5 separate regions of the Homo sapiens genome follow, and regions 1, 3, 4 and 5 are each linked to region 2. Evidence: promoter capture Hi-C in 16 types of primary human blood cells and fetal thymus (Javierre and others, 2016). All regions are on one chromosome and are shown on one strand. Each heading gives the region's core, a stretch centred on a gene start or on the middle of the fragment in contact. The rest is flanking DNA. Distances are from core to core; before and after follow the strand shown.

Region 1 (2,700 bases), core at 88-2,587, 200 kb before region 2:
GTCTCCTTTTTCTTCCTCTCCCAAACAGATCCAAAAAGATAAGAATCATTAAAGCAGTTTGCTTAGTAATAGAAAAGGTTGGTTTAGTGAATTATTACAACTGAACAAGGAAAGTTCAGTTCATTAAGCATTCAGCAAGATAAATATGCGTTAAACTTACAGAATAGTTTCTCTAAGCTAGGGGTGATTAAAATCAAACAGTGGGAGCCAGCATGCCAGCCGATTTGGGTTGGGTAACCTTGGAAATAAAGTTTCCTGGATGTCAGGGTCTCCATGGACGATCCAGAGCCCTGCTCACCTCCCTCACTCTACTTTCTTTTTGTCTGTCTTCAGATGGAAAATCCCCACTCACTGCTCACGATGCCAGACACACCAAGGCTATTTGCCTATGAGAATGTTATCTAGACAGCAGTGCACTCCCCTAAGTCTCTGCTCAAAAAAAAAACAATTCTCGGCCCAAAGAAAACAATCAGAAGAATTCACTGATTTGACTAGAAACATCAAGGAAGAATGAAGAACGTTGACTTTTTTCCAGGATAAATTATCTCTGATGCTTCTTTAGATTTAAGAGTTCATAATTCCATCCACTGCTGAGAAATCTCCTCAAACCCAGAAGGTTTAATCACTTCATCCCAAAAATGGGATTGTGAATGTCAGCAAACCATAAAAAAAGTGCTTAGAAGTATTCCTATAAAAATGTAAATGCAAGGTCACACATATTAATGACAGCCTGTTGTATTAATGATGGCTCCAGGTCAGTGTCTGGAGTTTCATTCCATCCCAGGGCTTGGATGTCAGGATTATACCAAGAGTCTTGCTACCAGGAGGGCAAGAAGACCAAAACAGACAGACAAGTCCAGCAGAAGCAGATGCACCTGACAAAAATGGATGTATTAATTGGCTCTATAAACTATGTGCCCAGCACTATGCTGAGCTTACACTAATTGGTCAGACATGCTGTCTGCCCTCATGAAATTGGCTCCAAATGAATGAACTACTTTCATGAGCAGTTGTAGCAGGCCTGACCACAGATTCCCAGAGGGCCAGGTGTGGATCCACAGGACTTGAAGGTCAAAGTTCACAAAGATGAAGAATCAGGGTAGCTGACCATGTTTGGCAGATACTATAATGGAGACACAGAAGTGTGCATGGCCCAAGGACAAGGACCTCCAGCCAGGCTTCATTTATGCACTTGTGCTGCAAAAGAAAAGTCTAGGTTTTAAGGCTGTGCCAGAACCCATCCCAATAAAGAGACCGAGTCTGAAGTCACATTGTAAATCTAGTGTAGGAGACTTGGAGTCAGGCAGTGAGACTGGTGGGGCACGGGGGGCAGTGGGTACTTGTAAACCTTTAAAGATGGTTAATTCATTCAATAGATATTTATTAAGAACCTATGCGGCCCGGCATGGTGGCTCACACCTGTAATCCCAGCACTTTGGGAGGCCAAGGTGGGTGGGTCATCTGAGGTCAGGAGTTCAAGACCAGCCTGGCCAACATGGTGAAACCCCATCTCTACTAAAGATACAAAAATTTGCTGAGCGTGGTGGTGTGCACCTGTAATCCCAGCTACTCGAGAGGCCAAGGCATGAGAATCGCTTGAACCTGGGAGGTGGAGGTTGCAGTGAGCTGAGATGGCACCACTGCACTCCGGCCTAGGCAACGAGAGCAAAACTCCAATACAAACAAACAAACAAACACCTGTGCTAGGTCAGTCTGGCACGTAAGATGAACATCCCTACCAATACAGAGCTCACCATCTCTTATACTTAAGTGAAAAACATGGGGAAGGGGAAAGGGGAATGGCTGCTTTTGATATGTTCCCTGACACATATCTTGAATGGAGACCTCCCTACCAAGTGATGAAAGTGTTGAAAAACTTAATAACAAATGCTTGTTGGGCAAGAATGGGATTGAGGATTATCTTCTCTCAGAAAGGCATTGTGAAGGAATTGAGCCAGATCTCTCTCCCTACTGCAAAACCCTATTGTAGTAAAAAAGTCTTCTTTACTATCTTAATAAAACAGATATTGTGAGATTCACATACAAAAAGATGCATTATTTTGCTATTTGCAATAGTGAAATTCTGGAAACTGCCAAAGAAACTGACCACCACAGGTGAAGGTCTGTTCATACATAGACATTAAGAATTATGGGTTAGGCCGGGAGCAGTGGCTCACGCCTGTAATCCCAGCACTTTGGGAGGCCGAGGCAGGTGGATTACTTGAGGTCAGGAGTTCAAGAACAGCCTGGCCAACATGATGAAACCCCGTCTCTACTAAAAATACAAAAAATATTAGCCGGGCATGGTGGTGAGCCCCTGTAATCCCAGCTTCTTGGGAGGCAGAGGGAGGAGAATTGCTTGAACCCAGGACGGGGAGGTTGCAGTGAGCCAAGATCGCGCCACTGCACTCCAGCCTAGGCGACAGAGCAAGACTCCATCTCAAAAAAAGAATTATGGGTTATACTCAGCATCATGAAATATACCTGTGTAACCTACACATGTAGCTTCTGAATCAAAAATAAAATTAAAAATAACAAATTTTTAGCATGTGCCTGTGGTCCCAGCTACTTGGGAGGCTGAGGCAGGAGGATCTCTTGAACCCGGGAGGTGGAGGTTGCAGTGAGCCGAGATCGCACCACTGCACTCCAGCCTGGATGATAGAGTGAGATTCTGTCTCAAAAAAAAAAAAAAATTGTTTA
Region 2 (2,726 bases), core at 175-2,674:
CAAAAGCCTGGCAGAGCGGGAAAAAGTGTAAAATTACAGGACTCAGGCCAGGCACAGTGGCTCATGCCGGTAATCCCAGCACTTTCGGAGGCCGAGGAGGGTGGATCACAAGATCAGGAGTTCAAGAACAGCCTGGTCAATATGGTGAAACCCCATCTCTACTAAAAATACAAAAATTAGCTGGGGTGTGGTGGTGCACACCTGTAATCCCAGCTACTGGGGAGGCTGAGGCAGGAGAAGCTCTTTAACCCAGGAGACGGAGGTTGCAGTGAGCCGACATCACGCCACCGCACTCCAACCTGGGCAACAGAGCAAGACTCCGTCTAAAAAAAAAAAAATTACAGGACTCAAGGTAAAATCCAGACAAACCCTGATGACAGTGCCTCCTTGAGCAGACACTTAACATCTCTGATCCTTTTTCTTCATCTTTAAGATGTCATTAATAACTTCTTTATACGCATGGAGATCAAATGAGATGACATATGTAAATGTGCTTTTTTTAACTGATGGATTGAAATAAACAATAAACCCAGTATCAATGAAAAAATATCACTATTGTGCCTACTGGAAGAATAGAATTGTGAGGATTCTATTCTCACAATATCCTCCTCTGCGACTAGAGGAGGGTGTACCCTGGACACAGCACTGATCACCCAGCTGCCTCTGGAGATCCCAAGGCCAAGGCCACAAGAGCAGCTGAGCAGGGACACAGTTCTTACTCTCTCACCCCATGAACCCCTCACAGCCACAGAAGCAGAGAATCAAGCCCTAGGAAATACCTGAGCTAACACCCTGACTGCTTCAGACCAGACCCCAGGAGAGGCCAGAAATCAGCACCCAGTCCACACCTCAAGTTGGCTGCCTAGCCTGGGTTCCCTGCCTCTCCAGAACTTCCCCTTTGACCCTTGACTTCAGAGCCCTGCCCAGCTCTACTCCCTCCAGGCCCTGCACAGCAGAGGGGAGCCCAGGAAACTGCAGCTCCTACTCTCAGAAGCCATTTACCTGCACTGCACCCACTGGTGGCCACAGAGAAGAATAACAGGAAGCAGAGTCTGGTCATTGTCCTCTAAGGAAAAACAAGATGCACAAGGTCACTGGCTGGCCCTTCCTTTGTCATCCTCTCGTTCTTACTTCCTAACCTTTCTGAGTCAGGAATCCTCAAATGGAAAGTGATGGGCTCATGAGCATTCTAAAACCTCCTGGAATATGCCCCACGGCTGTCCAACACTACAAATACCCAAGGGGCCATGGGCTCATTTCCCTGAAACTCTAAATCTCTAAAACTGAGACCTGAGCTGGCATCATTGCTCCCACACACATGGATCAAAAACATTTTTCTCACCAGCATGGACAGCATCCTTACAGATGCCAGGAGCTGATAGTTCCCTTCCTGTGGACACTCGGAGCTCCCCTGCAGAGGATCCTGATGAAGGGTGAAGTGCTGGTCCCTTTATGTGGAGAGCTGTGGAGAGCCAAACCACCTGAGCCCTGCCCAGCCCAACCCTGAGCAGCCTAGGCTGCTAGCCCCTCCCTCTGAAGCCCTTCCCTCTGAGGGTACCTGAGCCTGGGACCGTGGAAATGAGAAAGGACGTGCGACTGGCTGGAGGAGCAGGGAGCTGTGTTCCTGGCCACACAGGTGACTGTCGCCATCTGAGGAGGGGCATCCTGCTTTGCCAAGGCAGGCCATACAATGTAGCAGTATCTAATCAGATTCGTGGATAGGTCACAATCCTCCCCTGCGTTCTCCCTCTCCCACCTCCCCCAGATGCCCTGGCCCCCTAGACACAACTCTGTCAAGAAATCATCCTTTTAGACTGAGGTGACACCTCATGAAAAATAAATTAATTAATTAAGAATAATAATTGGCCAGGCACAGTGGCTCACACCTATAATCATAGCGCTTTGGGAGGCCGAGGTGGGCGGATTACCTGAGGTCAGGAGTTCAAGACCAGCCAACATGGTGCAACCCTGTCTCTACTAAAAATACAAAAATTTAGCTGGGTGCAGTGGCGTGCACCCGTAATCCCAGCTACTCTGGAGGCTGAGACAGGAGAACTGCTTGAACCCAGGAGGTGGAGGTTGCAGTGAGCCAAGACTGCTCCACTGCACTCCAGCCTGGGCAACAGAGCAAGACTTCACCTCAAAATAATAATAATAATAATAATAATAAATAAATGGGAAAAGAAGACATCATCCTTCCAATCTTTCCTCCAATTTCTCTATGAGGCCTTCCCTGACACCCCCATCACCAGACAAAGCTGATGGATCCTTCCTTTGTCCCACTATACACTGTCCAAACACTAATTATTGCATGTATCCTGCTGTAATTTTATTGTTTTATTAACTCTGTTTAGAAACAATTTGAAATTTATTAAATGTTGCAAAAATAACAATAATATAAAGCCACATATATGCCCTTTACCTAGATTCAACTATTGTTAATATTTCACCCCATTTGCTTTATCTTTCGTGTTCTCTCTCTCTCTCTCTATATATATATAGATATATGTATATAAAATACACCCACACACACAAAATTTTTTTCTGAACCATTTGAAGGTAAGGTACATACATCATGGGCTTTTACCTTTAAATAAATGCGTATGGGTTTTTTTTATTTTGTTTTGTTTTTTGACACAGAGCCTCACTCTGTCACCCAGGTTGGAGTGCAATGGCATGGTCTCAGCTTACTGCAACCCCCGCCTCCCAGGTTCAAGTGATTCTCC
Region 3 (2,705 bases), core at 52-2,551, 140 kb before region 2:
AGACTTGAGATATGATTCACCCTGAGGCAAAATTCTTCTTCAGTTGTGAACCTGCAAAACCAGAGAAGTTATCTGCCTCCAAAATTCAATGGTGGAACAGGTATGGAATAGACATTGCCATTCCAAAAGAGAGACATTGGGAAGAAGAAAAAAGTCACAGGTCCCAAACAAGTCCAAAACCTAACAGGGTAAATTCCATTAGATTTTAAGGCTCAAGCATAATACTCTTTGGCTCAGTGCTCTATCCTCTGGGCCCACTGGAGTAGCAGCCCCACCTCCTTGGCCCTGAGCGGCAGTTCTGCCCCCTGGAACCAAGGAGGAAACCACCTCACCCTACCCAAGGCTTGTGCCCTCTAGGCCTATGGTGGCAGTGGCAGCTCTGCCTACTTCTGAACTGCCTGTGGGGTCACTCTTCCCTTTTCTTGAAGGATAATACATATTTGCAGCTGTACAGCTGTATTGACTTATTTCATAAAATCCCAGAAGCCTGACACACTCCTTCATTTGTCCTGTCTCTGTCCCTTACAGTCCAGACTGGCAGCATTTCTGCTGAGGTGGTCAAATCTCATAACCTCTTTAGCAAACATTGCCAAGCCACAATCTTTGTGTTCTCTCCAGACACACTTTCTCGTTTTTCGCAATATGAATAGGTGACATTTTTTCAAAGCTTTAAGTTCTGGCTCCATCTTGCTTGACAATTCCTTATTTAACCTCTCTCTCTCTTCTCACATTTTATATAAGTAGCAAGGAGAAACTAGGCAGTGCCTTCAGCTCTTTGATTAGAAATCTCCACAGCTAAGTACCCAAATTTATCACTTAAACATTCTGCTTTCCACAAAACACTAGAATACAACGTGGCCGAGTTCTTTGCCACTTTACAACAAGTATGCCCTTTCCTCCAGTTTCCAGTAACATATTTCTAATTTCTGTCTGAGACCTCACCAGCAACACATTTAATATTTATATTTTTACCAACATTCTGCTCATGATCACATATGTATATCTCTAAGGTAATAGCAGCATTCCCTGCAGTGTTCCTATTTTCTTTCTGAGTGCTCACCCAAATTTTCGTTAACATTCATGTTTCTACCCAGAGTCTCTTGAAGACAATCTAGGATTTTTCTAGCACACACCTCAAAATTCTTCCAATCTCCACCCATCAGCCCATTCCAAAGCCACTTCACATTTTTAGATTTTTAGAGCTTCATCCCACTTCTGGTATCAAAATCTGTGTTAGTTTTCTAGGGCTGCCATAACAAAATACTGCAGACTGACTAGCTTAAACAACAGAAACGTATTCCACATTTCTCCAGAACACAATTCTGGAGGCCAATGAAGGTATCAGCGGCTTGGTTTCTTCTGCGGCCTCTCTCCTTGGCTCCCACATGGCCACTTTCTCTCCATGTCTTCACATGGGTGTCCCTCTGTCTATATTGTCTGTGCTCTAATCTCATCTTCTTATAAGGATACCACTCATATCAGACTAGGGCCCACCCTAATGGCCCCATTTTAACTTAATTACTTCTATCTCCAAATATAGTTCTATCTTCAAATACGGTCACATTCTGAGGTGCTAGAGGTTAAGACTTCAACATCTAAACTTTGCAGAGACACAGTTTAGCTCATAACACCATCTTTCTATCAGATAATTTGACCGTTTTCATTGATTTGTAGGGTATTCTGTATCTATTAAGGAAACGGAATTCTGTGCAGTTAATAGAATTAGAATGAATCAACTCCACATGTGTTGACAAATGACGTACAATAATTTCCAAGATATATTGTTAATTTTTTAAGGTTCAAAACAGTGTGTAAAGTATGCATATATCTGTCTATATCTAGAATACCTCTGGAAAGATCAACAAGAAACCCATAACAGTAATTGCCTCCAGGAATAGTAATTCTTGGGGAGATGAAATAAATGGCTGGAGGCTAGAAAGCTTACTTTTTTCATTATGTAGCTTTGGTATTTTCTCAATTTTTTTTAATGTATTACCTATTCAAAAGAAGAAATATTGGGCCAGGTGCAGTGGCTCATGCCTGTAATCCCAGCACTTTGGGAGGCCAAGGCAGACAGATCACCTGAGGTCAGGAGTTCGAGACCAGCCTGGCCAACTGGTGAAACTTCATCTCTACTAAAAATACAAAAATTAGCCGGGTGTGGTGCTGTGTGCCTGTAATCCCAGCTACTCAGGAGGCTGAGGCAGGAGAATCGCTTGAACCCAGGAGGCAGAGGTTGCAGTGAGCAGTGATCACGCCACTGCACTCTAGCCTGGGTAACAGAGTGAGACTCTGTCTCAAAAAAGAAATATAACTTAATGAAACATTCACACATGTGCACATACATGGTGAGCAGTGGAGATGGAACAAAAGGAAAGGAGAAGACAAGGAAGAAGATCTAGAAGCACAATGCATCCTAAATTCAGACCAAAGACACGGGCAACTCAAATTCTAGAAGCAGAGGTCCCCACTCCATAGCGTTTGGGGCTGGGCCATTCACCTATTTATTCATTGAACATTCATGAGTGTTTTTCATAAGGCAGGCTGGGTGTTAGATGTTCAGACACAGGAATCAGCCCTGTCATCAAGGAGTTCTTACACTGGTCGGGGAGAGAGAGAAGTAATCAGACTATTAGTCATGCTGAGTCATGGTGATAACACCTGTAGCGGATGTTATGGGAGTACAGAGGAGAGGCTGTCAACCC
Region 4 (2,700 bases), core at 53-2,552, 220 kb before region 2:
ATACCCAGTAATGGGATTGTTGGGTCAAATGGTGTTTCTGGTTCTAGCTCCTTGAGGAATGGCCACACTGTCTTCCACAATGGTTGCACTAACTTACACTCACACCAACAGTGTAAAAGCATTCCTATTTCTCCACATCCTCTCCAGCATCTGTTGTTTCCTGACTTTTTAATGATCACCATTCTAACCGGCATGAGATAGTATCTCCTTGTGGTTTTGATTTGCATGAAATGCTGTTTTTAAAACTACACTAGTTGTTTACAGTACTGTTAAGGGTGGCTTAAATAAGCAACAACAGTTTCTCAATTTGAGATGACACAAACTCCCCCCACCCCCAGAAAAGCAGAAGCATTCTTTCTAAATTTTCTCTCAACTTTCTGGAGTTTCTAAATTTTCCCCCACACTCTGCTCTACCATCATACCAATCTCACAAAAGATGCAGTCATGAGGGCCTGAGAAATCACACAGTTTTGTGCTCCTAATTTTCTTCTCCAAATACAAAGAAGAAAATGCTGCATATCATTCATAATTACTCAATTTTTATTGCTCAGGACACCCACTTACTCATTTGATATACATATTGAAGGTCTGCTATATACCAGGCACTCTTCTAGTTACTGGGGATAGGGCAGCAAACAAAGCAGACAAAGTCCTTCTTCTGATGCTTCTTAGATTTTAGGGTAGCAGATCCTAGAAGGAAAAAATAATAATAAGGCAGGGTAAGGAGATAGAGAGTAAAAGATCAGGGAGTGATGTTCTATAGGGGCACAGGAGCCCCTGTCTGATAGGTGACACTGAGTAGATCTCAAGAAAGAGATAGCCATATGGTCATCTGGGGAAGGGCCCTCCTCTAGTGCAAAAGCTTTGGAGTGTGCTTGGAATATTCAAGAACATTGAGGTGGTTAGTGTGACAGGTGTGGAATACGTCAGGGGAAAGTGATGGGAGATGACATTAAAAAGGTAGCCAAGAACCATCATATGGGGTCTTGGAGGCCCTGGGAAGAAGTTTGTATTTTATTCAAAGAGCTATGGGAGACAACTGGCAAGCAGAGGAACAACATGATCTGACTTATGTGTTTAAAGAATCACTTTAGTAGCCTGTGAAAAATACATTATAGGGGACAAAGATAGAGGCAAGGAGACTAGTTAGGCGGCTGTTGCAGTAGTGCAGGTGAGAGATGGTAGTGGCGAAGGTGGTGAAGGCAATGAGAAGTTATCAGGTTCTAGGCATTTTTTCCAAGGCAAAGTCAATAGAATTTTCTGATGGATGGATATGGGGATAAGAAAGGGGAGTCATGGATAATTATAATTTTCTGTCCTGAAAACCTGAGTGATTGGAGCTGCAGTTTACTGAGTTGGAGAACACAGATGGAGGAGGAGGTAGAAGGTAGGCAAACAGGAGTTTGATTGGCACATGTGAAGTTTTAGATGCCTTTTAAATATCCAAATGGAGATTCTGAGTAGGTAGCTGGATATACAAGACTTGAATTCAAGAAAAAGGTTACAGTTGGAAATAAAATTTGGTATTTCAAACCAAGAGACTGAATGAGATCACCTAAGGAATCAGGATAGATTAAAAAATGAGTAAGTCTAAGGACTGAACCCAGAGACATTTTCCATTGCTATAAAGGAATACCCAAGACTGGGTAATTTATAAAGAAAAGAGGTTTATTTGGCTCATGATTCTGCAAGCTGTACAAGAATGGCACGTGTATCTGCTCAGCTTCTGGTGAGGGCTTCAGGAAGCTTACAATCATGGCAGAAAATGAAGAGGAGCAGGCATGTCATATGGTGAGAGAGGGAGAAAAAGAGAGAGGGGAGAAGGCACCAGGCTCTTTTAAACAACCAGCTCTCACATGAACTAATAGGGCGAAATCTCACTTATTACTATGGGGAGGGCAACAAGCCATTCATGAGGGATCCACCCTCATGACCCAAACACTTCCCACTAGGCCCCATCTCCAACACTGGGGATCACATTCCAATGTGAGATTTGGAGGGAATAAATATCCAAACCATATCACTTGGGAAGGAAGGAACCAAGAGAGAGTACAGTCTCATGGGCCAAAATGTCTCAAGAAAGAGGGAATGATTAACTACCAAATGCTTTTAATTAAATTTTATTTTACAAAGGCAGTCACTTTCTAATTCAACATAGGCTTTACTTTCATTTTCAGTTCTTCTTTTGATGTTTTTTTGGTGGAGTACCCCCAGGACTTTTCACTGATCTCATTCCACCCAGCTCAGGCCCCTTTCCATTTCATAATAGTTTCTCTCCATATCTTCCCAGAAATCTTGGCTTGGTCATTTTCAGGAATAAGGAAAGCTGAGACATGGAAAAAGAGTAAAATTGTTTGAATGAGAATGAAATATCTGCTCCAAAATCACCTCTAGGTCAATTTATACAGGATATCTCATCTCCATCCTCATTCTGTTTGCCAAGATTTTCAGGATTCATAATCATGGCACTTTAAAACTACTATTTCTGCCATTGCCACATTTGTACTAGTATGGTGCACAAATGGGTGATACCTCATAATGGAAACATTACTGGGTTTGAGGTCATCACAATATTTTAGTTTCTGGCTTGGCTGTGCTAATAAAATGCTGTGTAACTTTGGGGAAAATACCTCTCTGGCTCTTAAGAAAATAAGGTCAATATTAGTAAACAAGTTGTCAACCTGTGACCCAAGTTAGAAA
Region 5 (2,700 bases), core at 134-2,633, 160 kb before region 2:
TCCAACATATGAATTTTGGAGGGACAAATACATTCAAACCGTGGCAACAAAGTTTACTACAATTTTAATGAACTAAATTTCCTCAAACAATACATATACTTAAAAAATACTAACTGATTACCTTGAACATGTCTATTTTGTATTCCTTATTTTCCCAGGATTGAAAGATTCATAACCACAAAAGAAACAATTATGTCATCCCATTTACAGCCATTTCCTGGGGTACCTTCTCAATTAGCTAAAGTTGCTTAATGACCAGAAATATCACTGACATGTTAACTAATGGTATTACCAGCACCCCTTTTTTTTTGAGGTGGAGTTTCGCTCTTGTTGCCCAGGCTGCAGTGCAATGGCACAATCTCGGCTCACCGCAACCTCCGCCTCCCAGGTTCAAGCGATTCTCCTTCCTCAGCCTCCCCAGTAGCTGGGATTACAGGCGCGTGCCACCACACCCGGCTAATTTTGTTTTTTTGTTTTTTGTTTTTTTTTTTTAGTAGAGACGGGGTTTCACCATGTTAGCCAGGATGGTCTCGATCTCCTGACATCGTGATCCGCCCGCCTCCGCCTCCCAATAATTTTGTATTTTTAATAGAGACAGGGTTTCTCCATATTGGTCAGGCTGGTCCTGAGCTCCTGACCTCACGTGATCTGCCCACCTCGGCCTCCCAAAGTGCTGAGATTACAGGCGTGAGCCAATGTGCCCAGCTGGCAGCACCACTTTTTGCTTGTTTTGTTGCTACCCTCTAAAAGGCTGGTCTCATAGCCTATATCCCTAGATTCCACTTGAACACTGTGACATTCCCTAATTCTTCCCTCTACTGTGGCTGCAGCAGTTGATTTGATGTTGAATTTCTTTAGCTCCTAACATATATTTGTCTTTCCATCTAAGTGTAAAAAGCTTTGAGCTTGTCAAAATTCTACAGTCTTTCATATTCTTCCAATCTGTAGTAGCATATATATACTGCAAGTCAAGACAACATTAGAAATAAAGTCCAAAAAATGCAATTGTGTAAAATGCAGGGTCGTCTTAATTGCACAGTGAATGAAGTGTTGGTTGGGGGCTGGTGGTGAAGCAACACAGCTGAGTATGTGGTTGTGGCTGCCAGACCCAAATCTCAACCCAGGCTGGAGTCTGATGCTACCTGGAGGCAATGCCCAGTTGACAGGGGTGATTCTGGGCCTGTAGCTGGCGGGACTCCAAGGACAGTAGCAGGGATTTCAAAAATTTTCCAGTCAGTCACACCCACTTGCTGGGGTGGTTGAAGTATACTGAGAAGGACAACACTGGAGACGCCGGGGCCAGCATCACTGGATGTTGCTCCCTGATTCCCAATGCTAGTGCCTTTGCCTCCCTGTCCTGATGAGAATATTAGCCCTCCCCATGTGAGGACAGGGCACACTTAACAAATGCATCATACCAAAATTTATATTAATTTAGGTTTTACTATACTTAAATGATAATACTTAAATTGGATTTTGTGTATTATAAGGCTGTGTCCTCCTATGGTCACAACTTCAAAGGAGGTCATTTCAGTGATGTTACTTTCCTAAATCTCAGTTTTCTCATCTCTAAAATGGGGATAATTGGAGTATCATCCAAATAGGGTCTATCTTAGGATTAAAGGAGAAAACATATGTAAAGTTCTAAACACAGAGGCTCACTCATAGTAATTACCCAATAAATGTTAGTAATGATTTTTATTATTACCAATCTCTCTGAATTCCCTTCTGCCTTTGCCCTCGCCTCCCATGCAGACTGTTCCTGCTCTCATGTTCTGTACCCAGACTCCTTCAATAGCTTCCGCACCTGTCTTCTCATCCCCAGGCTCATCCCTTCCACCCATTCTCCCTCCACTCTGCAGCTCCAGGAAGCTTCCTACTCCTACTGGATTCTTGTTGCCTTTAGCTTGGTAACAGGATGCTTTATCTGGGCTCTGGTAACCTCTCCTGACCGTATGTCCTGCAATCCCCTCTAGACAGCCCATGTTCTAGTCACAGGACCAAGGCTAGAGTGAAACAAGACACGCTCCTAGTGCACAAAATTTAAAGATTTTCGAGATTCTGTCACTTTCAATATTGTGCAACATCAGATCATGACCAGCCTCTAAAGATGCTTTCCATGGACATAAGCCTGTTATCTTAATGGTTTCTCTCTCTCTCTCCCTTCTTCCTTTGAACCCAGACTTCCTGGGTTCAAGTCCTTACTAACTATAAAACTTATAGTAAGCTATTTAACCCCTCTCCACCTCAGTTTTCTCATTTATAGAATGGGGATGATAAAAGATATCTCATAAAACTATTGTAAGATCAAATGAGTGAATATGTTAAAGTGTCAGAAGATGGACTAGCACTCTGTAAGCTTTCATCGAATATTAGCTAAAACTACACATTCTGCCAGCCTCAAGTTTTCCTGCCAAGTCCCCTTAATGTTACAGCCTAAGTAAACAAATGACCTGAAGCCCGAAACACAAACCATAGCATGGCCAGCTATTACGCTACTGACAAGAAGAAGGAGGAGAAAAAGACAGTTTCCCAAGTCAGGATATAGGGAATCATGCCATTCTCCAGCCTACCTTTTCAACTCAGTCACCTCTACGCTGTCACATACGATGTCCACCCCCATTGCAGTCTCCCTGATGCCTTTGTCCATATTAAAAGTCCTTCATTGCATGTGACAGAAAGCTAGCACAAACTGCCTTG

The links. The method cuts DNA at HindIII sites, captures the fragments that hold promoters and counts their contacts. A CHiCAGO score of 5 or more calls a contact.
Region 1: a contact is called between a fragment that was not itself captured here and the fragment with the promoter of ITLN2 in region 2, in 2 of 17 cell types (M2 macrophages and naive CD8 T cells). The highest score is 5.8, in M2 macrophages.
Region 3: a contact is called between a fragment that was not itself captured here and the fragment with the promoter of ITLN2 in region 2, in 6 of 17 cell types (M2 macrophages, naive CD8 T cells, total CD8 T cells and 3 more). The highest score is 6.6, in M2 macrophages.
Region 4: a fragment that was not itself captured here is called in contact with the fragment with the promoter of ITLN2 in region 2 in 10 of 17 cell types (naive B cells, non-activated CD4 T cells, total CD4 T cells and 7 more); the score reaches 12.0 in naive B cells.
Region 5: a contact is called between a fragment that was not itself captured here and the fragment with the promoter of ITLN2 in region 2, in 2 of 17 cell types (naive CD8 T cells and M2 macrophages). The highest score is 5.6, in naive CD8 T cells.

What each region holds. Positions count from the first base shown.
Region 1 is chr1:160,752,773-160,755,472 of GRCh38, forward strand. SLAMF7 (SLAM family member 7) reads left to right here. Exons shown (of 7, transcript NM_021181.5): 7 at 334-2,049. The coding sequence ends at 405. Among named protein-coding and RNA genes, the nearest start is that of SLAMF7, 15 kb to the left of the region's middle. The HindIII fragment of the contact is 3,711 bases long and covers 1-2,700 here.
Region 2 is chr1:160,953,385-160,956,110 of GRCh38, forward strand. It overlaps ITLN2 (intelectin 2), which reads right to left and starts at 1,425. Exons shown (of 8, transcript NM_080878.3): 1 at 1,343-1,425; 2 at 1,003-1,066. The coding sequence starts at 1,357. The HindIII fragment of the contact is 24,751 bases long and covers 1-2,726 here.
Region 3 is chr1:160,810,786-160,813,490 of GRCh38, forward strand. The region is part of intron 2 of LY9 (lymphocyte antigen 9); the gene reads left to right. Among named protein-coding and RNA genes, the nearest start is that of LY9, 16 kb to the left of the region's middle. The HindIII fragment of the contact is 1,273 bases long and covers 666-1,938 here.
Region 4 is chr1:160,731,928-160,734,627 of GRCh38, forward strand. It overlaps LOC124904440 (a long non-coding RNA gene), which reads right to left. Exons shown (of 2, transcript XR_007066687.1): 2 at 2,105-2,326. Among named protein-coding and RNA genes, the nearest start is that of SLAMF7, 6.0 kb to the right of the region's middle. RefSeq lists an enhancer at 350-469. The HindIII fragment of the contact is 884 bases long and covers 861-1,744 here.
Region 5 is chr1:160,792,508-160,795,207 of GRCh38, forward strand. No RefSeq gene overlaps it. Among named protein-coding and RNA genes, the nearest start is that of LY9, 2.3 kb to the right of the region's middle. The HindIII fragment of the contact is 974 bases long and covers 897-1,870 here.